Regions from separate parts of the Homo sapiens genome. Here regions 1 and 3 are each linked to region 2. Evidence: promoter capture Hi-C in 16 types of primary human blood cells and fetal thymus (Javierre and others, 2016). All regions are on one chromosome and are shown on one strand. The core of a region is centred on a gene start or on the middle of the fragment in contact, and the rest is flanking DNA. Distances in the headings are between cores, read along the strand shown.

Evidence for each region. The method cuts DNA at HindIII sites, captures the fragments that hold promoters and counts their contacts. A CHiCAGO score of 5 or more calls a contact.
Region 1: a contact is called between a fragment that was not itself captured here and the fragment with the promoter of PIGA in region 2, in 1 of 17 cell types (naive CD4 T cells). The highest score is 6.5, in naive CD4 T cells.
Region 3: a fragment that was not itself captured here is called in contact with the fragment with the promoter of PIGA in region 2 in 2 of 17 cell types (total CD8 T cells and activated CD4 T cells); the score reaches 7.6 in total CD8 T cells.

Annotation. Positions count from the first base shown.
Region 1 is chrX:15,846,692-15,850,836 of GRCh38, forward strand. The region is part of intron 2 of AP1S2 (adaptor related protein complex 1 subunit sigma 2); the gene reads right to left. Among named protein-coding and RNA genes, the nearest start is that of AP1S2, 6.0 kb to the right of the region's middle. The HindIII fragment of the contact is 1,579 bases long and covers 1,517-3,095 here.
Region 2 is chrX:15,333,762-15,338,191 of GRCh38, forward strand. PIGA (phosphatidylinositol glycan anchor biosynthesis class A) reads right to left here and starts at 1,762. Exons shown (of 6, transcript NM_002641.4): 1 at 1,740-1,762. RefSeq lists enhancers at 1,514-1,563, 1,614-1,693. The HindIII fragment of the contact is 3,001 bases long and covers 158-3,158 here.
Region 3 is chrX:14,493,786-14,498,455 of GRCh38, forward strand. It overlaps a transcript of GLRA2 not described here. Among named protein-coding and RNA genes, the nearest start is that of GLRA2, 33 kb to the right of the region's middle. The HindIII fragment of the contact is 253 bases long and covers 3,258-3,510 here.

The sequences.
Region 1 (4,145 bases), core at 1,056-3,555, 510 kb after region 2:
ACGAAAAGAACAACAGCTCCACGTTATTACAGAAGTTAGAGAAAGAGAACAGAAAGTTCCTATCACTTAAGGGAAACAGAGGCCTGTTCTCAAATTTACCAAGTTCTACACTGTTGAACTGAAGTGTAGTTTATTTACCCTAGAAGAGGGAATAAGGTTGGGAAACTTATATTCTCCTTCAAATTAGGATTCTAGCATATGGAATCATGTTATGCTTGACCCAAGGAAGCAAAACTTCAACCCTGAGGCATAGCAAGTCCTTTGAGGAGGATTAAAAGGGCATTTTAAAATGGTTTACATGTACTTAAGGCTTTTGAAAAGAAAGAAAATAAAAACCTAAGATAGGCTAAACACAGAACATTTCAGTGGAGATTATAATTTTCACTGAAGATCACTTAAATGATTTTTAGAAAACACAATGGGCAGTTACTGCTCGTAGCATTAATGTAAAATAATACTGTATACAGAATAACACAACCTGTTTTGAGACTCAATGAATTCTTGCTCCTTAGTATGAAAATAACTAGTATTCACACAACAGCATTAATTTCATTATTAAAACCATTTCATCTTATTTGATGTTTTCAACAGCAAGTACTATCTTTCATCCTTGATCACAGATTAAAAAAAGACAAAAAAAAAATGAGGCTTAAGAGTACAGCGCCTACAAGTGCTAGTACTGGGATAAGAAACCTGATCTTTTGACCTTAACTCCAGGCCTTTTTCCACTGTATCATACAAACTCACTTGGCATATATATCATGAGTTTGTGCATGTCTACTCTACCTGACTTCCACACTCAGTAAGTTATTTAAAATGGTGGAGCTACTGCAGTCTTATTGAGAGGAGGTATTCACATGTGTTCATTTATCATCATTGTGAAGGGAATAAGTCATGGAAGACAAAACAGGGCATCAATGCCAACTTTAACAAAGTGCTCCCTCTCTTTCCCATCGTTACTGTTTTTGTTTGTCTATTTAAAAGAGAATAGAGTATTCCAACTCTCCATCCTCCCTAACCCATGCTCATTAAATAGAACTTTGAATTTGAGGAAACTGATAAATGACACATAAGATTCCCTGATTTAAGAAAACTAAACATTAAAGGGACTGACATAAAAATGGTAGATTAAAAACCAGATATGACTAGCTGATAGGAACAGAATGCTAAATAATTTATTATACAAAGTTTACTAACAGTTTCAAGTAAAATTCCTTTTATTTAAGATTTCCTCATGCTACTATTAAACAAGCTAATGCTCGTACCATCCTCGCTCCTTATCCACAGTACTGCCTCTTTACTTACAAATAAAAAGCACTTAAACACTAGTCAAAGGTCCTAAACTGCATGAATCACTTGGAAGCATTAATTTAAAAATCATCAGAAACAATGTGTCTAAGCCCCAGCCAGTAATGTTTACTTTCACTCGGAATGGAAAAAGAATAATCAAATTAATGAATTCTTTGGTGTAGGTGAACAGATAGCTATCAGGATAATAATGTACCTCTTTCCAGAAAGCTTAGGGCAGGAAAAAAACAGAAACATAATAATTAAGTACCATTCACTGAATCCTCGCCCTACATGAGACATTAAATGTTAGCTAAGGCTTTTGCATATTTTACCACTCTAATCCTCACAACAACCGTATCCATGAGATACCATTATTATTTGCATTGATAAGAGACCCAGGTTTGAGTAACCTGCCTAGGAACAGCAATTTGACTCTAGAGCCCAAGTTTTACATTAAAAACTATAGCCAGCAATTGCATTAACGTAATCCCATACCTGGCAAAAATTAAAATGTGCTCGAAACAATATTTTAAGAGCTTTGAAGAGAAGTAAAATATGCCATACTGATTTAGTAAAAGATTACCAAGAGAACCTGAAGTGTACTTCCTATATTTAGGACCAAATGGTTTTAAAAAAATCAATAATGAGCTCATTTTGTTCTCTTAGTGCCTATTTGTAAGTCTAAATCTGAAGTAAAATTAATAATAGACTAGTAAGAAGAAAGGTATGTTTGGTTATTTTTAGCACAGTGGATTAAGGCTTACTCTAATTACTGGCACTCAGAGAACATCTGAAAGTGCCTATTCTTATATTCAAAACACATGACTTCTCCGCAGTCAGCTAAATATCAGCTAAATATCAGCTGACTGTGGGTGAATGTAGCTGAAGTGTTCTCAATACCCACTGGTATGTCATTAAAAATTCTTTTGTTAGTAAAGAAAATCAGTAAGTATTCTTTAACAAATTATCAAGCTAGTAATTTGGAGATATATATGTTTTTAAATTAATTTTAAAAGACCTTAATCCAGTGACTCTTCCACAAAATGCTACACAAAACAGGAATCAAAAAAGCACAGTATTCTGTCTTGAAGGGATCTTCAAGAGCATTTAGAGATAAGGAAACAAAGTGACTTGTTTAAAGTCATAAAACTAGCTAACGTTACAAAGGGAACAGAACTTAAGTCCCCAGATTTTCAGTCTGTCTTTTCAGCTAATATTATTCTTATCCATCATTCCCCTCTCAAAAGGGGGAATTTGTATGCCAAATACTCAGGATGAAGAATGTAGATGAGATAATTTAACAAAAACAACAAAAATCACTTGCTGATATGAACAGCAGAAGTCCCAGTCCAGAATTTCTCAGGCGCTAAGCAGTAATTCTCCTGCTTAAAAAGCTCTTCGCTTCCAGCAGTAGGGAAAACAAACCACCTGTTTATACCAACAAAAAATATGTCCGTAAGTGGTAGAGTAGATGAGGTTTTCAGTATGAAATGGAAGGGGGAACGTATAGAGAAAGAACTGATAAATTCCACCTTTTGTATATGACTGATATCTCAATAAAGCTGTTTTTTTTAAAGTCCACCTTTTATTTAAAGGTGCTTGATATAAGTATCAGAGTTGGATTAGATACCCTTTGTAGCTTTCAAAAGAAAAAGTAGTGGCTCAACACGGACAGACTGAGTGACATGTGCATGAACACCAAGCAGTGCTTTCCTTTCTTCCCATAACAGCCCATTCCTGGGATTGAATCCCTTGCTGGTATTTTCCTCCTCCACACGGGGGACTCCTTCCCCTATCTAGAAATAAGCTTAAGCCTCTCACACCTTCTTTTTTAAAAACCTTGTCCCCCACTCCTATGTCTATGAGTGGTTACCACCTCGTCTCCTGTCCTTCACAGCAAAGTTCCCCAAAATAGTCTACACATGCTATTTAAATTTCTCCACCTCTTCACACTTCGCCCCATTACATCGAGAGTTCTATCTCCACTATTCCACTGAAAATGTTCTGGCAAAGGGCATTATATGAAATGCTCACTGTAAAATCTACCAGATTCCTTCCTCACTTTCATTGAACTTTATGCAACATCTGGCATTGGTGAAATTTCTCATTCCACTCTGAAGGTCCCTTCTTCATCTCCTTTGCCTGCCACTTGAATGCTGGTGATCTAATACTTTGTCTTATTTTCCCCAGACTTCCATACTTACACCAACCACATCCCACCAGAAAATCAGGCTTCTCTTAATGAAAGTCACATAGACATCCCCAAATCAACTCACCCCAAAATAAGCCGAGTTATCTAGCTCACCTTGTACCCCATCAGCAAACCAGAAATGTGGAGATCACCCCACTCCTCCCTTTCCTTCGCTGCTCTCTCCGCTTTGTTGTTGTCGTTGAGGGTCTCACTCTGTCACCTAGGCTGGAGTGCAGTGGCCCAATCAGGGCTCAGTGCAGGCTTGAACTCCCAGGCACAATCAATCCTCCCACCTCAGCCTCCAGAGCAGCTAGGAATACAGGTGCATGCCACCACGCCCAGCTAATTTTTTTTTTTTTTTTTAATTGTAGAGACGGCGGGGTCTCACTAAGTTGCCAGGGCTGGACTTGAACTCCTGGGCTCAAGCGATTCTCCTGCCTCGACCTCCCATATTCTTCCCACTTCTAGAGGTGACCAAGTCTTATCAAACCTACCTATTTGATAATGGCTATTTAGTGACAGCCCTCCTTTCTAGCGCCTGGGTTCAGGATCTCACATAGTCTCCTACTGATCCTGCAGGTGCCAGTCTCAGCCCCTCCTGCCCTCATCCATTGTCTCAGTTCAATCTTTTAAGATATGTAAACCTGATCTTTTTCCAGCCCTG
Region 2 (4,430 bases), core at 512-3,011:
TTAAACTTTTCTATCAGTTATGCAGGCCTTTCAAACTCAATGAGTGTCCCTCCCTTCAGTGCGGTGTCTAAAGATAAAGGCTAAACTAGAGATGGGCTGTATCTGGGACCATTTTCTCAATTTAAAGTGCGAAATGTTTATCTCAGGGGTCCCCTAAAGCTTTATTAATGTGAAATGCCCACTCAATATTTAGTACTACTGTACATTCTTAGACACTTAAAGCTAAAAAGAATCTTGGATATCTAGTCAAAATCTTCCTCAGCTTTACAAATGAGATTTCCAAGGCTCCAGAAAACAAACAACTATACAATGAGAAGCCATCCTAAAGCTCTGAGTTTCCGGTTTCACCTGCAAACTCAGAAAATGCCAATTAACTGTATGTGCAAAGGCTTAACTGTCTAGTCTCTCCAACAAATTCATCTACTTTTTTTTTTTTTTTTTTTTTTTGAGACGGAGTCTCACTCTGTTGCCCAGGCTAGTGTGCAGTGGAGCGATCTCGTCTCACTGCAGCCTCTGCCTCCCGAGTTCAAGCGATTCTCCCACTTCAGCCTCCTGAATAGCTGGAATTACAGGCGCACACCACAAGCCCAGCTAATTTTTGTATTTTTAGTAGAGACGGGGTTTCATCATGTTGGCCAGGCTGGTCTCGAACCCCTGACCTCAGGTGATCCACCAGCCTCGGCCTCCCAAAGTGCTGGGATTACAGGTGTGAGCCACCGTGCCCGGCCTCATCTACATTTTAAATATACTCTCGGAAAGACCCCAGAAGTGTTTGTTGACTGAGTTTACTAATTAAGATTCAATATTACCAAATATTGAAATTCCCCAAGTTTGTACTTTTAGGTGGCTTAACTAACATTTTCTTACTGTGGTCACCTAAACCCGAACTTCCAGTTCTACCAGTTTTAAAAGATGAACGATAGCAAAAACAGTGAGTAATGAACCAAATGATATCATTTAAAATGTTGTCATTAGCCTGCAACGTTCTGTGAGGAGTCTGCCCACTTCCGCCAGGTTTTCAGTCCAAACATCTTTGACATAAAAGTTCATTATGCTGCACAATCGCAGAATCTTAGCTCTTAAAGCCGAAATGAGGCTTGGAGCTCTAGTGAATACCTCTCTCGTTTTACAAATGAGAACCCAGACAAGTTGAGTGATTTGTCCAAGGTTCCCACCCAGCCACTTAAAGTGGCAAAGACATTACCGTAAAATTCTCGACCACGACCAACGAGCCCTGGGCAATCATTAGCAGTAGAGGTTCCTGAAGAACCTTAGGGAGACCTGGCAGGAGTTGTGGGTCAAGAGAATGGTACTTCCACCGACAATTCCTGGGCACTGTCTGAGCTTCATTCCCTGATTCCCTGAGAGGTCGCTGGGGAAACGCTCGGGCCAAGGAGGGGATACCCCTGCTCAGACAGCGACCCCGCTGGGTTCATGGCGGGGATGGCCAGGCCCAAAGAGAGAAAGAAAACAACCAAAGAGTGGACGTTGGTCTCAGGCCCGGGGTTCCGGAGACCCCAGTCCCTCGACCCACCCGCCTGAGCCAAGGAACCCAGCGCGTCCGCCCTAAACGCACCCTCAGCCCCAACCTACTCTGGAGACCCTCCGACCCAACTTCCGGGCTTCGAACCGGGTCGGTTTCACCCCCTCCACCACCCGCCACGATCCCACGCGCGCAGAACAGCCCCATCCGAAAGCGGCCCAGAGCGCTGGAGAGGGGCGGCGCGACGCGCACTCACCGGTGAGTTCCATGGCCGCCAGTGTCCGGACCTCCCGCGGCTGCAGCCGGAGTCCCTCCCTGCTGTTCCGCAGCACCAATCTAGGGCGTCCGCGCCCAAGGGCCGCGCCCCCGAGGCAGCCAATCACAAAGAGGCGCTGAGGTCACGTCCGAGAGAGACGCTCTGTCGTCCCCACCCTTAAGCGCGAGATGTAACGTCAGCGCGCGCCTGCGCCCGTCTCCTAGAAGCGGCCGACGGTAGGGTGGGTGCTCACCCTGGTTTCCTGGTTACAGCGTCTCTATTCCGGACGCCAGTTCTCTGCGCGCTTGCTTCTGATTGGAGAGACTTTTTGTTTGTAATCAGCTGTGCCACGGCAAAACCGTGCCGGTTCTTACCGCTCTGGGACGTTTGCCAGATAAATAAATAAAAATACACAAAAAGTCAAAACAGATGAAACTATGAAGTTTTAATTTCAGATAAAGCACAAATGATGTTTAATACAAGCATGTACCAAATATTGGGGACTTCACTACACATTCGTTTTTTATCGGACATGTAAATTTAACTAGACATCCTGTTATTTATATGGCAATTCTACACTCTGAGGGAAACATACGAGGTCTGATCTGAAATATCAACTCCCACTCGACTGGTTCAACTAGTTACGATGGTGCTTGACTAGGAAGCTAAAGAATCAGTGAGAGTGGTATGACGGTCATCCATGCGTCACAGCTGGTACTTGGAATCCCCCATCCCTGCCATACGTGCGTTTTCGAGAAGAAATTCCTTTCTGAGTACCATCACAGCCACCGTTACTGGCACCCATTTTATTAAGCCTAGTGTAAGCCTATTCATCCCTGAAAATGTCTGCTCCTTTCTGATGCTTTCCCCAAGCCTCCAGAGAATGAAATACTCTCACTTTTTAATTTTAATAGTACTTTGGCCACATGCTGGCCAAAGTATAACATTTATCAGATGATATTCAAGTTGTTTGCCTGATTGCATTCTCCCTCCTCACCCTGATCCTTGATTACTTGTCTCTTGAGATCTCACATGGACTTCTTTCTGAAAACGGAAATTGTATTTGCTTGTTAAATGTCTGCCTTCCCTGCCAGATAGTAAACTGAGGCAGGATCTGTTCTTGGTAATGGATGTTGAGGAAGTTTTAGTTTAATACATGAATTTCTTTACCCAATGTCAGCACACTCCCTGACACATATTAGATGCTCACAATAAAATGTATTGACAGTATTTCGTGGAGTGTACCTTATACAAATTACAGTGCAATAACATCATTGAAAGAGCATTTTAGTTGTGAGATTTGAAGCGAATTAATGAGTTGATGAGTAAGACTAGAGTAGCAATCGATACTTTGCCCTGTGTTAATATTGATGAAGCATCGGAGAATTACAGTGATGAAGACTCAAGGACACTTAATTAAGCTTTATAATTTGTAGTTGGTTTCACAGATAACAGCGACATTACCAGATAGGTACAGCATTTGGCCTCCTTTCCATTTTTGTAATAGGTTTTAAGACAAAGAGTGGGGGTAGAAATCCTGGAAGGTATAAATGAGGGTTAAGCCTCACTTATTGAGCCCCTGGTTTGCCCCTGCCATAGTTCTGATCACAGTACACGTTTGAAATTCCACCATGAATCTTTTTTCAAAATATAACAAATATTTCTTATTTTTATCATCAAACATTTACTGGATGTCTGCTCTGTAAAAGGCCTTGTGGGGAATACAAGAAATATTAAGCATAGTCCCTGTGTTTCAACAGCTTTTTATTTTTTCTAGCTTTTCCTGTACATGTTATCAATAGTCAAAAGAAATCCACCTTTCTTAAAAGGTTCTTTGTGTTTCAAATATAGAATAGGCTGACCTTTATAAATAGATATTAATAGAGGCACACTGTTGCTGAGTCTCTGTGGGGGAGGGCGTTGAGGAGCCTGCAGGCTGTTCCAACAAAGTCTGAAAACATTGAACATTTATTTAAAGCTCCAGCTTCTGTCCTAGGCACTGAGCATTAAAAGATAAATAAATCATGATTCCGACTCCCAAGGGTTCATAATCTCACCTGGGTACATGACTTCATTTATAGTCAGTTAAGTAAAGGTCTCCATTTAAGGCTATATTCTAAAAAGTCAAAAGAAATTTGTAGTAGCAAGATTAAGATATAAATCTGGAGATGATTCTAATTATGGTGTCCTGCCTTAATGTATGGTCTCAAGGTATGTCTTGAGAGAATTTTCTCCGGAACCACTAAAATTAGACTAAGATACTTACATGCATTATATTCTGATTGCACTTAATAAAATATGAGGGCAATTGGTACCAGTTTTAGTATTAAACGACCTGAGATGATGAAGATGTAAAATAAATGTAGATATCATCTTCCCTTGAAATTCAGTTTTTGCAACTTCATATGTAAATTAGCTCTTTGGGATAATCTTGGAGTGCGAAGGCAACAAACATGTCTTGAGAGCCTACTATCTGTGTACAAAGCACGATGCAGAGAAAACCTGGCATGAGCTTTACTTGCAAGGAAACAATACAGAGTTAAGGCATATGTAAATATCTACGATAAAAAGCAGGAAGTGATAAATGCCATAAGAGAAATATAAGAAAAATATTGGGAGTTCAAAGGGGAAGAGTATTTCTAGCTGCCAGCATTTAGCTAGAAGAATAAGTAGATGGTGTCATGCAACTCT
Region 3 (4,670 bases), core at 2,134-4,633, 840 kb before region 2:
CACACACACACACATATATATGTTCTAGAACCCCATCATTTTATTCCTTGGCTTATATCCAAAAGAAATGCATATAATTATTCACTAAAGGATATACATGAAAATGTTTACAGTAATATTACTCACAATACTTTAAAAACTAACCAAATAACCACCAATAATAGGATGTATAAATAAAATATAGTATTTTCATACGATGTAACATACATGGGAATTAATGAACTGCAACTACACACAATAATAAGACCTACTGTCACAAAAAAATGTTGCATTTAAGAAGCCAAACATGAAAGTGTACATACTAAATAATTTAACTTATATGAAGTTCAAAAGAAGGTAAAACTAATCTAAGGTCTTAGAAGTTGGGGCAGCATTTACCCTTGGCAGGCTAGTAGTGACTGGAAGGGAAAGATAAATCCTATTGAGGTGCTGGTAATATTCTGTTGTTTACCTAGGTGCTGTTCAAATGGGTGTGTTTGGTTTGTGAAAATTTATAAAGCTGTAATCTTTTGATTAGTACACTTGCTTTGTGTGCTATATACTTCAGTATTATGTGGATATGAATAGATTTTTCTAACAAGAGTTTCCACAGATTTCATCTGTTTTGCAAAGGATTTTCTGCCTCAAAAATAATTGTAACCATTGAACTGGTGAAGAAAGAACAGACCTTGGATGGCATTAGGTTTGTGGGTTGATCACAAAACTGGTTTTTTTCTGTCTTTTTCTGAGTTGAAAGAGTCTAAGTCCTATCCTATTTAAAGTGTTGGTGATCTTGTGATATTCCCCAATCCTAGCTATATTTCTGAGAAAGCTGTTCAGTGTTTACCTGAAACTGAGGTGTTTCCTACGACTAGGGACTTTCACTGGAAAACTGGGAAAGTCCTGGGAAAACTAGAATGGAAGTGGAAGAGACGGTTGTCTTGCTCTTTTTAGAAAACAGCAAATCTCCGAAGTCTCATGTCATTGGAGTTATTGGACTCTGGGAATCACCTGACTCCCGTAGAAGCACCTAAATGGGTTTTGCAGAAAAACTGGGTGGAATTTCCAGCAGTTCCAGTATTTGAAGAAAACTAGTGAGGGTCAGGACAGCATTTAAAAATTCCCAGATGTTCTGAGTATGAGGGCCGCCACATCACCTGGCCTTTAATCAGTCCTCTGTATGATGCCTCCTTTCATCCTCCAAGTTAAGTACAGGGACTTGGTTTCCTGTGTCACTTCAGCCGGCTGCAATTTTAGCAGTGGCTGCAATTTTAGCAGTGGCTTCAGGATGGACAAGTGATTGAATGAATGTCTTTCAGAGTCCTTGCTGGTAGATCAGATTGAGCCAAGGCAAACTTGTCACCATACAATGAGTTTCCTAATGCCCAGAGAAAAGGCATAAATGGCCCATTAGCCCTTGAGAGTTTTCAATGTAATGTAGTTTCTCTTTCTAGGATTGTGGCTTTTGATGTTTTCCTCTTATATTAGGTGAAAACCACTTAAAACATATTCAATATAAGACAATCAAAACCTGTCATTAAAAAAATTCTCTAAACATCGCAGAAAACTATAATGCAGGCGAATGGACATTATGTTTTACTTTTTAACCTGGTTCTAAATCCCTTCAAATAGAAGACATCTATTTTGTTAGTCGATATAGGGTTCTACTCTACCATCTAGAAAAGCAGCCATGATTAGTATGAGAGCTAGAAAGAAGGTGGAGTGGAAGGGGGAAAGAGAACTCTATCAATTACGTTGATTGAGCACGGGGTATATTTCTGAAATTTCTGACCCACCATATATATATGTCTGTGTGAGTGTGTGTATATATATATACGCACTATATATGTGTATGTATGTACACATACATATATACATATTGCATATATATCCTTATATACTTATATAAGGATATATATGAAAATATTACATATATATATATCCTTATTTAATCCTCCCAACAACCTTTGAGTGTATTATTATCTGTTTTATAGATAAGAATCTAAGGTTGAGAGAAATTAAGTAATTTGCCTTATGTATGCACAGAAAGCATAAAAAGGATTTGAACCCAGTTCTTCTTGATGCCTAATGATACCTCAGGGACTTTATGACCACTCTGGGCCTGGGAAATAAAACAGTCCATTTTGCAAAGGAGTACTTGAGCTGGTGGTTTTCAGGATAGTTTTGTTTCAGATAATCCAAGAGAATTGTGGAAAAAAATTGTTCTAAGACAGAAGCTTGTGAGCTGACATTTCTAGCTAAGGAGAGTTCATTGTGTTTGGGGTGAAAGGGAGATGAAATATTTTAGCATGGGCGAAATGCAAAGTCTACATGGGGTAATGACAAGAAAAAAAGAATGCATAGATTGTAGGTGAGGGGAAGGAACTTGAATCCTAGGTAAGTGTGTTGGCTCAGATGAGCCCAGAATTCCATATTGACATAGAGGGACTGTTTCCCAAACAAAGCCATTTTTATATGCTGTTCATCAGACTATACACCAAGCTAATGGTCTTACCTTGTATCTTGAGTTCTTCTAGAATTGACAGTCATCTCTAAGAAAGATTAGCTGAATTAGTACTGAGTAAATCCGCACATATGTGGGTTGATCTCAGATATGGTAACTCAGATTGTTTTTTAATACCATAATACGTTTTTCTCCATTTTCAATGCATTTATCACCACTTTCTGTCCTTGAGATAATTATATAAACACAATTAACTATAAGGCAAGTGGAAAGACTGTTATTACTGTAGTTGTCTTTAAATCTTGGAAATCAGTGATTTAGCTGACCCTGCTTTCCAACATTATCTTAATGCTAGCACTAAATTATTGTAAATCCAACATGTTTTCCAAGTGCTTTTATTCTGAAAGGTTCAAACTGTTTTCTAGATTCTTCATTAATCCTCACAATATGTGCAGGAGGTACTTGCTGTCAAACGTCAGGCCCATTTTACAGATGGAGGATTTAAGCAGTTTAATAAAAGACATGTCAGTCACATCCTCAAAGGAGTAAGGATCCAGCTCAACCGTGAACCTAGACCTGCTGGTTCCCCAGCTGTTGCTGTCTTTATTAAGGAATGTGGCTTCTCTTGGTTTCACTCTGGTGCTGGCCTTCAGCTGGTTACTAGGCAACTTGAGTGATCACAGCCTAGGTGGTTCAAAATACCAGAGCATCAAAGTCCTAGAAAAATGAAGCAAAATCTTTTCATTGTACACATGTTAAATTTAGTCTAATACCAAACCATTGTACCTGAGATTGGCCAGGAAAAAAACAAAAAAGCTTTGAAGGGCTACCAAACACCATGCGTCTGATATTTGGGTTAATTTTAGGCTGATAATTATTACAAGTGTCTTAGAACACAGAAGAGGAAAAATAAAGTATAGGCTGCTTGCTCTACAGAGCTTAGAGCCCAAGGCACTCAAATAAATAGTTGTATCACATGGAAAGATGATGTAAAGTGGTTGATGAGGGGTCAAGATAGAGAAGAGAAATCGTCTGATAACCAGGGCAACTTGATGTTAGCTTCTGTAAGCTTTCATGATGATTTCAAAACGAGAAAGCAAAAGTGAAAGTAGAGGGAACAAATTTCCCCAGCTACTTATTTCTAAAGCTCAGAAAGGAATTTATCATAAGAGTAACAGGAAGAAAACAGCTCGGTGCAGTCTTTTATAATTCTCAGTGTGAGGATCCATGTGGGCTTGGTTATATGAAGTGGGTTTTCTCCTTGAAGACAGAGAAGGGTACAAAATGTGGTGGTCCTGGGCTTTGCAAACAATAGCTGAGTCACAAACCACAGCACAGTCCTTGGAGACATAGTGAGAGAGTGGCAGGCTGAGCCTCCACTTCCCATCCAGACACATGACATGTTGCTGGGAGCATTTTCACTTCGTTCTGTTTCATAAGGGGACATTTGAACCAGATTTTAAAAGGCAAAAGCTCAATTTTTCTTAGTTTTAAAAAATGTTGCCATTTATTTGAAAACCTGTGGGACAATTGGCCTCTAAGATACACTTTGCCCCACCCCCTCCCATCTATCTCACAGCTAGGCAGACCAACTCAAAATGTGTCCCTTAAAAATCCTGTTTCCATGTGGCTCTGCTTAAGGAGGTACTCTAACCCAGAAATATCATCCTGGAATAGAACAGACAGCAAGATGGATTATGCATCACAAGTAAAGTACCTGCCATCACAATTACAACTCTAATATATAGTGAACACTGGCCAATAGCTTATGCTCTTTAAAGGAAGAGATGTTATTTTCATTTCTTCAGAGTTCTTGAGAATTCTTTAAAAAGTAAAGAAGTTATGTAAATATTGGAAGATAGTCATATCACACTGATTTGCAAATAATTCCATGGTTACCTAAAAAAACAAAAAAAAAACCAACAGGCTCAATTAAAAGAAAATTATGTGACTAGAAGTAAAATAATTTGGTAAGGTGCTGGTTACCAGGAAAAATATTTTAAAAACCAACTGATTTACTCATAGAAACCAGATAGAAATAGAAATGGAAAACACAACCATACACCTCATTAACAATAAAATAAAAACTACAAATTACATAGAAACAATTTAACAAGGAAAATGTAACATTTATTTAAAAGAGCTATAAATTTTATTGAAGGACATAAAATGAGATCTGAATAAATGTATTGACAAACTATACCCCTTGATAGAAAGTATTTTCCCC